Linked DNA regions of Homo sapiens: region 2 is linked to region 1. Evidence: promoter capture Hi-C in 16 types of primary human blood cells and fetal thymus (Javierre and others, 2016). All regions are on one chromosome and are shown on one strand. The core of a region is centred on a gene start or on the middle of the fragment in contact, and the rest is flanking DNA. Distances in the headings are between cores, read along the strand shown.

What was found. Contacts are between HindIII fragments. The CHiCAGO score rates a contact against its expected background, and 5 or more counts as called.
Region 2: a contact is called between a fragment that was not itself captured here and the fragment with the promoter of EFTUD2 in region 1, in 10 of 17 cell types (endothelial precursors, M0 macrophages, naive CD4 T cells and 7 more). The highest score is 7.1, in endothelial precursors.

Annotation. Positions count from the first base shown.
Region 1 is chr17:44,895,680-44,903,344 of GRCh38, forward strand. EFTUD2 (elongation factor Tu GTP binding domain containing 2) reads right to left here and starts at 3,766. Exons shown (of 28, transcript NM_004247.4): 1 at 3,690-3,766. It overlaps DNAAF19 (dynein axonemal assembly factor 19), which reads left to right and starts at 4,050. Exons shown (of 4, transcript NM_213607.3): 1 at 4,050-4,180; 2 at 5,311-5,462; 3 at 5,841-5,973; 4 at 6,686-7,665. The coding sequence starts at 5,320. The coding sequence ends at 7,138. It overlaps GFAP (glial fibrillary acidic protein), which reads right to left. Exons shown (of 9, transcript NM_002055.5): 9 at 7,480-7,665. The HindIII fragment of the contact is 5,429 bases long and covers 592-6,020 here.
Region 2 is chr17:45,021,310-45,028,974 of GRCh38, forward strand. It overlaps DCAKD (dephospho-CoA kinase domain containing), which reads right to left. Exons shown (of 5, transcript NM_001288655.2): 5 at 2,035-3,415. The coding sequence ends at 3,124. Among named protein-coding and RNA genes, the nearest start is that of DCAKD, 26 kb to the right of the region's middle. RefSeq lists a silencer at 723-1,072. The HindIII fragment of the contact is 7,872 bases long and covers 255-7,665 here.

The DNA.
Region 1 (7,665 bases), core at 2,516-5,015:
TGTGTAATTCCTACAAACAAGAACATTCTCCTACATAACCACAATACAACCATCAAAATCAGAAAATTGATATTCACACATTACTACCACCTTCTTTACAGATCCCATTCAAGTTTCACAGATTGTTCCAATAATACCTTACACACCTAAGGATCCAATCCAGGATCATGTTTGCATTTGGTTGTCATGTCTCTAGTCTCTTTGGATCTACAATCTTCAGTCTTTGGATCTACAATCTTCAGTCTTTCCTTCCAAGGACTGTCATGAAATCCTTAAGGATGTCCCTTGATTTGAGGTTGTCTGATGTTACCTTATGATAATATTCAGGTTATGCGTTTTGGGCAGGAATATCATAGAAGTGATGCTGTGTTCTTCTCAATGCATTTCGTATCAGGTGATACATGATTTCAATTTGCCCCATTAGTGGTAACGTTAACTTTGATCACTTCATTAAGGTGATGTTTGCCAGGCCTCTCCATTGTAAAGTTACTCATTTTCCCTTTGTAATTAAGTAGTGTTTTGTGGGTTTTCTCCACTTCAATTACTGAAATTCTATTCAAAGAAACAGTTCAAATGCCACCACCTCCTTCAAGCTTTCCTAGCTCCTCAATTTCTCATTCCTCTATCCTACTAGAGCTTTTTGCACCTTTATCAGTATTTAATTTTGTCTTAAATAGTAGTTAACTGGCTGGGCACAGTGGCTCATGCCTGTAATCCCAGCACTTTGGCAGGCCAAGATGGGCGGATCATGAGGTCAGGAGATAGAGACCATCCTGGCTAACACAGTGAAACCCCGTCTCTACTAAAAATACAAAAAATTAGCCAGGTGTGGTGGCACACACCTGTAGTCCCAGCTACTCAGCAGGCTGAGGCAGGAGAATCACTTGAATCCAGGAGGCAGAGGTTGCAGTGAGCTGAGATCGCACCACTGCACTTCAGCCTGGCTGACAGAGTGAGACTCCGTCTCGAAAAAAATAAACAAAATAAATAAACAAATAGTAGTTACTAATTACCATCACCAACTATAGTTTATAAGCAATAAATAACAGACTAGAGCATCAGGGCTCTGGAGTTGGAAGACTTAGATTCAAATCCCAACTTTGTCACCAACAACTATGTAACTTGAGGTAAGTTACTTCATCTCTTCCAACCTGATTCCTATTCTTCAACTGGAAAATGGAATGAATAATCCTCACTGAATAAATGGTTATGAGGATTAAATAAAACACCCTGTGTAAAGAATTTACCAGAGTCCAGCTGGGTGCAGTGGCTCACGCCTGTAATCCCAGCACTTTGGGAGGCTGAGGTGGGTGGATCACGAGGTCAGGAGATCGAGACCATCCTGGCTAACACGGTGAAACCCTGTCTCTACTAAAAATACAAAAAATTAGCCAAGTGTGGTGGTGGGCGCCCGTAGTCCCAGCTACTGGGGAGGCTGAGGCAGGAGAATGGTGTGAACCCAGGAGGCGGAGCTTGCAGTGAGCGGAGACAGCGCCACTGCACTCCAGCCTGGGTGACAGAGAGAGACTCCGTCTCAAAAAAAAAAAAAAAAAAAAAGAATTTACCAGAGTCCTAGGCTCAATAAACGTTAGCTAGCATTATTTTTTGCCATCCTTGATCATGAGAACCCTGTGTTCCATGCACCTGCTTCTTCTCTTCACTTCTTTTATGATACTAAATTTAATTTTAAAATAATACCAAAAAGTGGCAAGAACAGTACAAATAACTTTCTTTTCCCCAAATATTTGACAGTATGCTGCTGACACAATGCCTCTTCACCTCCTAATACTTTAGAGCAAGAGTTGACAAACTCTGACCTGTGGCCAAATCTGGCCCCTCCAACTGTTTTTGCATGGTCCTCCAGCTAAGAATGCATTTTACATTTTTATTTTTTTATTTTTTTGAGACGGAGTCCCGCTCTGTTGCCTAGGCTGGAGTGCAGTGGCACGATCTCGACTCACTGCAACCTCCGCCTCACAGGTTCAAGCGATTCTCCTGCCTCAACCTCCCAAGTAGCTGGGATTACAGGCACCCGCCATCACACTTGGCTAATTTTTGTATTTTTAGTAGAGACGGGGTTTCAACCATGTTGGCCAGGCAGTCTCGAACTCTTGACCTCAGGTGATTAGCCCACCTCGGCCTCCCAAAGTGCTGAGATTACAGGTGTGAGCCACCGCACCCGGCCACATTTTACATTTTTAAATAATTGAGAAAAAAGTACCAATGCTAACACAGCCAATAGCCAAGACAGCACCTTGCATAAGTAGGAACTGGATAAATGTTAACTGAATGGGATGTTTAATTTTAAGATGCTGATATTTCTTGGATTAGACTGATACCTCCAACTCCCTCAATGCCACCTGCTGGGTGCTGAATGTAGAGAGAGAATTGGAGCTCCAAGGACCAATAATTAAATGTAAATTATTATGGAAACTTTCACATGCATATTCTTTTTACTTCTAAAAAGCTACTATCGCATTTATGCTTATCTCATTCTCCCAAGACCCCAGTCAAGGGATTGAAGAAATTATTTATTTATTTTATATATATTTTTTGAGACAGAGTTTTGCTCTTGTTGCCCAGGCTGGAGTACAACGGCACGATCTCAGTTCACTGCAACCTCCGCCTCCTGGTTTCAAGCGATTCTCCTGCCTCAGCCTCCCGAGTAGTTGGGACTACAGGAGTGCACCACTACGCCTGGCTAATTTTTTTGTATTCTTAGTAGAGATGGGTTTTCACCATGTTGGCCAGGCTGGTCTCGAACTCCTGACCTCAGGTGATCCGCCCGCGTCTTTCTCCCAAAGTGCTGGGATTACAGGCGTGAGCCACCGCGCCCGGCCGATTGAAGAAACTGTTATAGAAAGCTGTTCATGGAACAAGCCAAGCTCATTTCTGCCTCAGGGCCACTGCACTTGCCTTTCTCTTTGTCCAAAACGCTCTCCCCTTTGATATTTTTCACCTTGTTCCTTTATTTCAATCAAGTCTCCACTAAAATGTCATCTTCTCTGTCACTCTAAAAAGTCCCCCATACATACTCTCCAACTTCCCACTTTCACTGTTTTATTGCTATTCACAAATGTTATACATTTATCACTAGCTGACTTGTATCTAGTTGTTTACTGTTCATTTCCCCAACTACAATTGAAGCAAAGACTTTGTTCACTTAGTACTGTGCCTAGCATAGACTAAGCCCTCAATAAGTATTTACTGAACTAATGAATGACTCTAACAAGGTACACAGAATATAGCTGATTTGCCCACAGTTACACAAAACTAGCGACTCATGGTAACAAACCTCACTGCCGCTTCCCGCTACAATGCAGGAGCTCAGAGGACTTCGGAGGGAACTTGGCAAAGAACGGCTGAAAGCGGCACGGATAGAAGAGGAAGTGAGCGAGGGGACTGGACAGTTAGAGCACCACTCCTACCTAGCGATACGATTTTACGGACTGAGGCTATAGAGGCAGCCCCGAAATCGAGGTGTGTGCGTGTGTGCGCGCTTCGGAAGCCTTGGGAAGGCACGAGGACGACAGGGTCTTCCATTCTTTTTCCCGCTCCAGGCCTCAATTTACCGATCCGTAAAGCGAAAGGGGCCAATAGCATATAAGGCCCCTTCCAGATCTGACGCTTTTTAATTTCCTATCCCACCTGGAGCAACCCTTCCGTGCCGCTGACCCGCTTCAACTTACCTCTCGCCTGCTCAGCTAAGAGTTCCCAGGCCGCTGCCGGAGATCGTGCTTCCGCCCCACGCCGAGGAAACGCCTGCGCCCGCCGCCAGGAAGGACCCCGCAGACGCCGCTGTCGCCTTTCTGCCCGGGAGGACAACCCTCTGCCTGAGGACCAGTTCCGAGGTATGCCCGCCGCGGACTGGCAAGGCGGAGTAGCGGGTCCCCAAGACGAGTAGCCCAAGACGTGGGCTGCTCCAAAGAGGGTGAGAGCTGAGGATGAACGAATCTGATCAGGCGCCTCGGGACCACCCTGAAAATGGGGGGAGGGGCCTTCGGGCAGATCACGTGGTCAGGCTGTTAGCGCAGTTGCTAGGCAACCACAGCTGCGGGCGTGGTCTGCGCGGGGTTGCCCTCCTGTTCTGGTTTATCAGGGGATCCCCAAAGAAAGCAAGGGGACCAAGGCCGGGACTGCTGGGGTGAAGGTCCGGGAGGCTGAGTAAGGGGACGGAAGGGTTAGTTCTATGTATTAAATGCCTGGGGAGGGCTGAGAACTGGACACCTGATTTCGGTTACTGGCCACCCCAGCCCCTTCTTGGCGTTCAGATTCCCTACGTTGGGGTAGGGTGGCTATGGGATTGGTTGGGGACTTCCTGCTTCCTTGCGCTAGGGCTGTTGGTGATGACCCCGCCACAAAATCTAGCTCAACTCACTAGGAGTTTGCAGTTCAGAGAGGTCCCACAAGTAAATGCCAGAGCCACGACTAGAACCCACGTAGAGAATCTCTCTGCAGTGGCTCACGCCTGTAATCCCAGCACTTTGGGAGGCCGAGGCGCGCGGATTACTTGAGGTCAGGATCGAAAATTGCTTGAACCCCGGAGGCAGAGGTTGCAATGAGCCAAGATCGCGCCACTGCACTCCAGCCTGGGCAACAGAGCCAGAAAAAAAAAAAAAGAAAAGAATATCTCTGTAGAAATGATCAGTCAGCCTCAGATATGCAGAAACTACAGAAGTACAGTGATAGAACTAAAGGCATTGCCCAGGTACCTAGGGACCTCTGTTCCAGCCCTGGGCTGGACAGAGGGATTTGGGGATGGGGTCATTGAGCTCCTTCCTTTGCCCCTTCTACTTGATTTCCTGCTCAGTCATTGCATCTGGTTTGGGTGAAAGTCTCCTTCCTCATTAAAGACATTCAATGAAGAATGAAACTTTATCCCCGAGCTCAAGGGTAACTAACAAGAGTTCTGCCTTTGTGTGAGGTCCCCTGTCGAAACGACTTGCTGTAGAACAATCCTATGGGGGAAGAGTGAAGAAACTGAATTCTGAGATCCCAATGCCTCCTCGACTGAAGCACCAAAATTAAAAATATTTTTAGAGGCAAAGAGCAAAATTAAGACAGAACTCCAAATTGAAAGTCAGGACTCTGTATTCTATTTTCAGGGACAAGTCTTGTGTAAGTCCTCACTGTGAAATTCAACTTGTCTTTGTAAAATAGAAAACCAGATTTTTGTAACACCTCCCAATCTGAGTGACATGATGTCCAGAGTGCTTTGGGGTCATTTTGTGTTCTGGTGAATAATTCAGAGGTACCCTCTTTCCCCTGATATTGACTGTCCACTGACATGTATTCCCTTTGCCTTCCCAGGCACAGGCCATGGAAAGGAATGACATCATCAACTTCAAGGCTTTGGAGAAAGAGCTGCAGGCTGCACTCACTGCTGATGAGAAGTACAAACGGGAGAATGCTGCCAAGTTACGGGCAGTGGAACAGAGGGTGGCTTCCTATGAGGAGTTCAGGTTGGCTCACTGCCATTTTTCTCAGGCCCTCCTGTTATGGTGGATTATAGTAGTTAACTCTGAAATCAAACCATTCTGGGCTTCAGTCCTGGCCCCACCGTCTACTGTTTGATCTTATGCAATTTCCTTAACTTCTCTGAGTCTCAATTATTTATCTGTAGAACAGTAACTGTTATAATTAAATGAGTTCTTGCACATAAGACTGAGCAAGTGTCTGACACATGTGAGGTGCTTGAAAGCAGTCAGCTATCGCTGTTGTTATTATTATGGTCATATTGGTCCGTAACAGGTTTATCCTATACCATGCAAAGTCTAGCTGCCTCACACCCACAGACACAGCATTAAGTCCATTGCCTAATTTCTGTCCTTTGCCTACAGGGGTATTGTCCTTGCATCACATCTGAAGCCACTGGAGCGGAAGGATAAGATGGGAGGAAAGAGAACTGTGCCCTGGAACTGTCACACTATTCAGGGAAGGACCTTCCAGGATGTGGCCACTGAAATCTCCCCGGTAGGTGAGGCCCTGCCCCTTTAGTCCAGCAGGATTCTCTGCCCTAAAGCTTCAATCCTGTTTTTTCATTTTGTTTTGTTTTGTTTTGTTTTTTTAACCACACATACCTCTTCTTTATTTGTCATGTTAAACCAACAGAGATAGGTTTCTGCCTCCAATCCCAGAAAGAAAAACAAACAGCAGATGGCAAAGCTGAGTTGAAGTGGGCAGAATGAGTCAGAAAGTTGGGCTAGGAAGGTCGGCTTCCCTTAGTCCTTTGACTTTCATTCTCAGATCAGAATTGGGATGCTCTGCCTCTGGGTTGTATGGTGTCTAGTGTAATGATCCTGTGGCAGTGTTGAGAGAGAGACCCCAACATTCAGATCCTTGAGTTCCTTTCTCTCTTCCTGAGATTTCCAATCAACCCATCCACCCGACTTACAGTAAACCCTGACTTACTCTTGAAGACCAGAGCTATGTCTCCATTCATGAGTAGGAAAATTCCAGTATAAATGAGAATCTCAAATCATGGCGTGGATTCCTTGGGGCCCTCCCTGTTTCATCCCCAGTTTCCTCATCTGAAAATGAGGCCGCCAAGGACCACAGCTTTCCCAGTGCTCAGACAGTAGTGAGATGAAGACAGTAAGATGAAGAGCTACAGGCTCCCCTCCCTGTCACTGTTGCAGAACAGCTGGAAGAGCTCCTGACTCCCTTTCCTTCCTTTGTGGTCCAGGAGAAAGCCCCCCTCCAGCCCGAGACGTCTGCTGACTTCTATCGTGATTGGCGACGACACTTGCCAAGTGGGCCAGAGCGCTACCAGGCTCTACTGCAGCTTGGGGGTCCAAGGCTCGGCTGCCTCTTCCAGACAGATGTGGGATTTGGACTTCTTGGGGAGCTGCTGGTGGCACTGGCTGATCACGTGGGGCCGGCTGACCGGGCAGCGGTGCTGGGGATCCTATGCAGCCTGGCGAGCACTGGGCGCTTCACCCTGAACCTAAGCCTGCTGAGCCGGGCAGAGAGAGAGAGCTGCAAGGGCTTGTTTCAGAAGCTGCAAGCCATGGGCAACCCCAGATCCGTGAAGGAGGGGCTCAGCTGGGAGGAGCAGGGTCTGGAGGAGCAGTCTGGTGGGCTCCAGGAGGAGGAGAGGCTCCTGCAGGAGCTGCTGGAGCTGTACCAGGTTGACTGATGCGGCAAGCTACCCTCAGAGGTCCCAGTGGTCACTGGAGGCAGTTTTTTGGTTGTTGTCTTGGGGGTTCTGCAGGACCATAATAAGAAACCCACACCTGGTTCCCTTCTCAACTTGGAATTTTCAGAGCAAAAACAGGAATCAAGTCTTCCCCACTTCTCCAGTCCCTCAGTGTCTCGCTGTTTTGAACTGTGTGTATCCATGGACAGTCAAGAGCTCAGGAAGTTGAGAGCGGTTTTGTTTCCCACCCTTAGAGTCTGCCAAGCCTCTAGCCCACTGGCCTTGAGAGATGAGTGTGTGCCCAACCAAATGCTGGCTATACCAGTTACAGCCTCCACTCATAAAAGGGAAAAAGCAAAATCTTTATGGTAAACAAACACTGATCTCCACAGCTCTTAACAAGAATGTTTATAGCCCCAAACCAATGAATGGACATGTAATCAACAAATGATCAAATACTACATCATTTGAGGTGTTGAATTTTCCCCTAGAGACTCAGTTCTTGTGCAGGTTGGGCCTGGGAAAGT
Region 2 (7,665 bases), core at 2,941-5,440, 130 kb after region 1:
CTGTTTCCTTCTGACCTAAAGTGCCTTGGTGAGAACTAGGGGCGCTCAGCAGCGCGCCTATCCTGCTCCCATTCAATTTCTAGCCATGGAGGCTCATCATGGAAGGTCCTAAACCTTTCCCTGCCTCTGCCCTGCCCCCCATGAGGAGAGAGAGAGAATGAACATTTGAAGAAGAGTTGTCAATTACTAAAGAGCCAAAGTGTATAATGGGGGCAGTGCAGATAGCCGGAGGAGCACTGTACTGGGAGTCAAGAAGCTTGGTGGTTATACCTGTTGGCTACTTAGGCCCCTTGGCTCAACCTCTGAGCCTCTGTAAAATTCTGGACCTGTCTGCCTCACACAGCTGGGAGATTTCAAGGGGATAACTGGAACGTGCTTTGTAAACTGTGAAACTGCGAATGACCTTCGGGCCAGTCGGGCCTGGGGGTGGGGGTGTTTTAGAGGCCTGCCTGCGCCCTTCGTCCCCCGCCCAGAAGGCGTGTGCGTCTTCACCCTCGCTGGTGTCTTATTGCTCCGCTCCGGGTGCTAAGGCCCAAAGTGAGGGAACGGAACGCGGAGGCTGCAGGGTCCCGTCGCCGTCGCGGTGGGTGGGCAGGGGACACGCCCTTTGGCACCCAGGGCCCGCAGCCCAGGCTCAGAGGACGTGGGCGAACAACGCACCTTTTGAGTTAGCGCTCAGGGTCAGGCAGAGCCTCCGCGCCCACCTGGCCCGTGCTCCCGCGGCAGCTGCTCGGCAGGAGTCTGAGGCCGCCCGCGGCCTGGGAGGAGGAAGATTAGGCCGCTCGGCGAGCGCCCGCCGCGGAGGCCCGGCCCAGCCCGGGAGGGTGCTGCCACCTGCCGGCCGAACGGCAGGCCGCCGGCTCGGGCGCGGGCCTGGGTCCCGGAGGCCCGACCTCTGCAGTTGCTGAGCGGCCTCAACTTCAAGTCCCCTTCGGAGAAAGTAGTCCTTCTTTTAAGGCCGCCTTGGACCCCCAAGGCCGGGAAGGGGATCCTGGGGCAGGGAGGCAAGAGGAGCTGGAGAGGGAGCTCTGGCGAGGCCCGGGCAGGGCAGGGCTGAATTCGAGGTTTCTCCACACCTGCCATGCTCTGACATTCCTGCTTCAAACCCAGCTCACTGGGTCAGGGAAGGTTAATTCTCTGGAACTTTACAGTTTGCTAAGGGTTTTCAGTGTCCTCCACTATGAAGCCTAACGATGTATGAGTAGAAACTAAAGGCAGGAGGTCACATGGCAAGCGGAGCCGGAATGCGAGCCCAAGGCCCAACCCCAGGCTCCAGCTCCTCCTGACAAGAGGCTCAGGGCACAGGAGAGAGTTCAGAAGCCTGGCTCTGCAACCTGGACCAAATCCATCTTTCTGAGCCTGGGATGGAAATAATCAGTGTTATGTTAACTATAGGGTCTTACACATCCAGCAGTGCCTGGCATGCTGCCGATACTAGGAAGTGCCATTTCCTCAATTATTGGGGTGATAGGGCACTGTGGGGGTCCATACCTTCCCTCTCCTTTCTCCGTCCTGGCGGATCGCACCAAACCGAGGAAGTGGCAGGCTCCTGCCACCCTCATCCTGCCTGGCCACCCACCTGGCAGCCCACCACTGCCTTACCCGGCCCTTCTTTGCCCCTTAGGGGTTTGCAGCAAGTTAATGAGCTAGACTCAGCACAAGCGGCTCTGGGAAAGGGGGCACTAAGTATGGCCACCACAGCATTTGCATCCGTCACACTCATTTCTAGCCTTAATAGGCTTCTGGCTGCAGGATCAACACATCAGCAAGTCTGCAGGCCCTGGCAGGGAAGGCTTATGTCTGCGCTGGTCTAATTGGGTTGGGGAAGGCAGATGGGGAGGCGGGGCAAGAAGGTGTGACGCTGCCTCAGCCCTCTACCCACCTCCCACAAAGGTGCCTCGGGCCTGGCTGCAGTCCTCCTGGGACCCAGGGAGAAGCCTGATGGCAAGTGCACCTTCTGGGGCCCTCACCTCCCCCTGAGCTCCGGGAGGACTCCAGCCCAGTGTGGGAAGAAGCCAAGTCTGGGAATCTTGGTTGGTCTGGGGCATTTCAGATCAACACACTTTATTAAACACCAACAGCGGGCCAGGCTCTGCACTAAGAACACAGAGATGAATAAGACACTGTCCCTGTCCCTAGAGGGCTTACAGTCTAGTAGGAAAAACCAGGCAAGTTTCGGCTAATTACTGTACTGTTGGATTAAGGTAAAATGTTGAGGGGGAGTTGGTATCCTAGACCACCTAACCCAGCCTGGGGCTTTAGACAGTGCCTGAACTGAGAGCTAGTTGTAGGTTAAAAAAAAAAAAAAAAAAAAAAAGGAAGAAGAAATAAAAGAAAATAAAAGGTATCCCAGGCCAGGAGCAGCAGGTTGAAGGCACAGAGGCAAGAAACAGCAAGGATGGTGTACACGGAATACCAAGAGGTCCAGGCGAGAAGCAGGGGTGGCAGGCAATAAGCAGGATGTGGGAGCACTACACAAACCCTACGTGGGGAGAGGGGTCTCCCAGAAGAGGCTGGTCCTGCCTGGCTACAGCGTTACCCACGAGAGAATCCTTGCTGCTTGCTGGCAGCAAGCCATACTGGGGGGCCTGGGCCTTCAGTATAAAAAATATCTCAACCTAGGGGAGGGCCTTGTTGACTGTTTGAACATGGAAACCCTTGGTCCAACATGATTTCCCGTGGTCCACTGAGGAGGTTTAGGCCACAATGGGGTAGGTGCTTAGAGAGGATTCAAGCCCAGTGAACCCTTGGCCTCCCAGCTCTGAGGAGGGCCACAGAGCCAGTATTCCCTACCCCCACCCACAGAAATGTATAGCAGTCTCTGACTGTTGCTTTCACACACCATCACGGTTGCTGTTCTGTAGGTGCTGCTCAGGGAAGGTGGGAAGGACAGCAGGCTATTTCTTGATCTCAAATAGGATACACTCCAAAGACGGGATGGCCTGGCACAGAGGCCCAGCCCTGATTCGGAGAGTCCGTGTGTGTGTGTGTGTGTGTGTGTGTGTGTGTGTGTGTGTGTGTGTGTGTGTGGGGAGGGGGCTGAGAGGAAACAGGATGTGTTACCTGGCTTCAGCCTCCAAGGAGATAGATGGAGGCCTGGGGCTCCCTGCCTTGAGTGCCCCACTAGGCGTAAGGCAGAAGGTAGTGGGTGAGCAGGTAGAGGAGGCTGGCAATGGCAGCGAGCCCTGTGAGGACCCCAAACCTCAGCGGCAGGTACTCCAGGGAGCGCTCCAGCTCAGTGTGCAAGAGGATGACCTGGCGTTTGGTGACACTCCACTCGCCCGAGTTGTCTAGGACATGGCGGGCCATGCGGGCCTTGTCTGTCAGGGGCAGCTGGGCATTGATGCGGGCCTCTGCGTCCTTGCGGTTCAGGCTGTTCCGCCGCATCAGCCGTGCCAGCTGTGTGTCCCGGTCGCTAAGGATAGGGCAAAAGGGCACTGTAGGTCCTGCCTCCCTCTCACCCCAAGTTACAGGGATAGGCAGCCCTGCCAGGCCCAGCCTGAAACAGAGAGCATGGGGACTGGATCTTCCCTCCAACCCTACCCTGCTCTGGGCTACTTAGGGTCCCACAGCCAGGGAGGGAGGCTTGGAAGCTCACTGGCTGCCTCACACCCCACTCCACTCACTGTGAGGAACCCAGAGCTCTATGGGCTACGGAAGCCCCTTAATACAAACAAGGGGGGAACTTTGGCCACAGCTCTTTTTTTTTTTTTTTTTTTTGCCATCTGGGGTCTCTTTGCTTTGCTACTAGACCTGACATTCCCCAGTCATAAGGTGGGAAGATTTCATCACCTGGAACCAGCTACATCCTGGATCCCTGGATGGGTGACCTTTACTGAAAGGCCTATGCCTATGAGCTAGACGCTTCCTGCAGTTCCCCTGGGGGCCTGGGTCTTCAGTATCAAAAATACCTCCTTGGGCCATCACAGAGACCCCCTCTCCTTGCTGCTATACCCCTCCCCTGAACATTTAGAGTAAAAGGATTGTGCTAAGATGGTATCTCTTGTGCTTAATGCCACTGATGATGTGGGACAGACAAGCCCAAGGTGCTTCAAAGAGGATCAAGGACATGAGAATTGGTCCCCCTTAGTTGTGGGACAGGATTCAGCACTGCAGATTAGGTCGGACAATATCAAGTCTCCCAACTCCAAGAGAAATTCAAAGAATACCTCCTTCACCCACCCTGAGGTCACCATCTGGGTCCTTCCTCAGGAAACTCCCTCTCTTGCCTTGGGCTACAGTCAGTCCTCTGGAGCGGGGTTACCTCTAACACCCCTCTAGCTCTAAGAGCTACTTCAGCCCCTCAGTGAGGACAAGAGCACAAGGGGTTGCAGCAGCTGTTTTCTACCATTTGGGGTCTTTCTGCCTTGTCACGAGGCCTGAGTTTTCCCAGTTATAAAATGGAAGGGTTTGATCACTACATTTTGGTTCCTTCTTTTTTTTTTTTTTTTTTTTTTTTCCTGAGACAGTCTCACTCTGTCGCCCAGGCTGGAGTGCAGTGGCGTGATCTTGGCTCACTGCAACCTCTATCCTCCAGGTTCAAATGATTCTCCTGCCTCAGCCTCCTGAGTAGCTGGGATTACTGGCATGCGCCACTAAGCTCAGCTAATTTTTGTATTTTTTTTTTTTTTGAGACGGAGTCTCGCTTGCCCAGGCTGGAGTGCAGTGGCACAATCTCTGCTCACTGTAGCCTCTGTCTCTTGGGATCAAGAGGTCTTCCTGCCTCAGCCTCCCAAGTAGCTGGGATTACAGGCGTGCAACACCATGCCCAGCTAATTTTTGTATTTTTAGTAGAGACGGGATTTCACCATGTTGGCCAGGCTGGTCTTGAACTCCTGACCTCAGGTGATCCACCCGCCTTGGCCTCCCAAAGTGCTGGGATTACAGGCATAAGCCACCGCGCCTGGACTTTTTTTTTTTTTTTTTTTCTTTTTTTGAGATGGAGTCTTGCTCTTTCACCTAGGCTGGAGCGCAGTGGTGCGATCTCGGCTCACTGCAACCTCCGCCTCCCAGGTTCACGCCATTCTCCTGCCTCAGCCTCCCGAGTAACTGGGACTATAGGCGCCCGCCACCACACCTGGCTAATTTTTTGATTTTTAGTAGAGATGGGGTTTCACCATGTTAGCCAGGATGGTCTCGATCTCCTGACCTTGTGATCTGCCTGCCTCGGCCTCCCAAAGTGCTGGATTACAGGTGTGAGCCACCGCGCCTGGCTTTTTTATTTTTAAATAAATATAGAGACGAGGTCTTGCTGTGTTGCCTACACTGGTCTCAAACTCCTGGGCTTAAGTGATCCTCCCACCTTGGCAGTTTGGTCCCTTCTTAGGGATTCTGGGAAGCAGACCAAGTGAGGCCAAAAACAAATGCAGCCACTTGCCATGAAAATGAATTATACGAGCTATAGATTTCCTCTGTTACGGGGTCAGTGTACTGTGGCCATTGTGGGGCCAATACCCACCTCGCTGAGAACAAGGACTAAATCCAGCCTTCATCAGGGAGACCACATATCTGTGGGTGGGAGAATCTAGTGTGAGATTAGAGATGGCCTGGGGCTCCCAGTAGGTGCACATCCTCCTGAAGGTGTGGCCCAGACCACAGAGCCTCCTGGATGTGGGGCAGCACCTCCGACAGCCCTTCCTGGGGCTCAGAAATGGTCCTATTCTAGTTAGTCTAAGACTTGGTACAATTTGTTGTAATAGGATTTTTACCCACTTATTCCACAATTGACAAATTTTTCAAAAACATGAAATTGGCTGGGCACAGTGGCTCATGCCTATAATCCCAGCACTTTAGTAGGCCGAGGAGGAGGATCATTGAGCCCAGGAGCTTGAGACCAGCCTGGGCCACACAGCAAGACCCAATCTCTACAAAAAATAAAAAAATTAGTCAGATGTGATGCTGCATGCCTGCAATCCCAGCTACTCAAGAGGCTGAGGTGGAAGACTGCTTGAGCCCAGGAGTTTGAGGCTATAGTTAGCTGTGATTGTGCCACTGCACTCTAGCCTGAGCCCTGTCTCAAAAAAAAGAAACCAGCATGAAATCATGTTTTGGTATAATCACACTTCAGGAGATGTCCTAAGTAATTTCAAATGCACCAGGGGTAGTCTTTCAGTTAAAGAAATCCACAAGGGAGTCCTTATTTTTGTAAAGCCTAGATCCCTTTGGTGAAAAGCATCACCACCTCTCTGGCATCTCTCAAGAGTTATACACCCACACCCACTGAAAGCAGGGCATGAGTGGCACCCAGGACTCTGGCAAAGGCTCCTCTGGCCGGTGAGTGGGGCTGAAGGTCTCCTGGAGAGCACACACAATCAACAAAGCCCCACTCACCCACCAAAACCCATGGCCACCTCTGCTCTCGGCAAACAGACCAACCTCAAAGAACAGCACAGGAAGGGCCGGGCGCAGTGGCTCATGCCTGTAATCCCAGCACTTTGGGAGGCCGAGACAGGTAGATCACAAGGTCAGGAGTTCAAGACCAGCCTGACCAACATGGTGAAACCCTGTCTCTACTAAAAATACAAAACTTAGCCGGGCATGGTGGCGTGCGCCTGTAATCCCAGCTAATCAGGAGGCTGAGGCAGGAGAATCACTTGAACCTGGGAGGCAGAGGTTGCAGTGAGCTGAGATCGCGCCACTGTACTCCACCTTGGGTGACAGAGTGAGACTCCATCTCAATTTAAAAAAAAAAAAAAAAAGCAAAGCACAGGAAGGACAAATGGCCAGAGGTGGGCGCGGGGTCATCTGGTGAATGCACATGCAGGTGTCGGCCCCTGCTGTCTTCTCATCTACACTCTAAGATCCTTTTTTTTTTTTTGAGATGGAGTCTCGCTCTGTCGCCCAGGCTGGAGTGCAGTGGTGCGATCTCAGCTCACTCCAAGCTCCGCCTCCCAGGTTCACACCATTCTCCTGTCTCAGCCTCCCGAGTAGCTGGGACTACAGGCGCCCACCATGATGCCCAGCTAATTTTTTTTGTATTTTTAGTAGAGACAGGGTTTAACCGTGTTAGCCAGGATGGTCGCGATCTTCTGACCTCATGATCCGCCCACCTCGGCCTCCCAAAGTGCTGGGATTACAGGTATGAGCCACCACACCCGGCCTTTTTTTTTTTTTTTTTGAGACGGAGTTTCATTCTTGTTGCCCAGGCTGGAGTGCAATGGTACGATCTTGGCTCATTGCAACCTCTGCCTCCTGGGTTCAAGTGATTCTCCTGCCTCAGCCTCCCAAGTAGCTGGGATTACAGGCATGCACCACCATGCCTGGCTAATTTTTGTATTTTTAGTAGAGATGGGGTTTCTCCATGTTGGTCATGCCGCTCTCGAACTCCTGACCTCAGGTGATCCACCTGCCTCGGCCTCCCAAAGTGCTGGGATTATAGGCATGAGCCACTGCACCCAGCCTTTTTTTTGAGATGGAGTTTTGCTCACTCTTGTCGCCCAGGCTGGAGTGCAATGGTGCAATCTCTGCTCACTGCAACTTCCACCTCCTGGGTTCAAGCGATTCTCTGGCCTCAGCCTCCCAAGCGGCTGAGATTACAGGTGCCCGCCACAACACCGGGCTAGTTTTTATATTTTTAGTAGAGATGGGGTTTCACCATGTTGGCCAGGCTGGTCTCGAACTCCTGACCTCAGGTAATCCACCCACCTCGGCCTCCCAAAGTGCTGG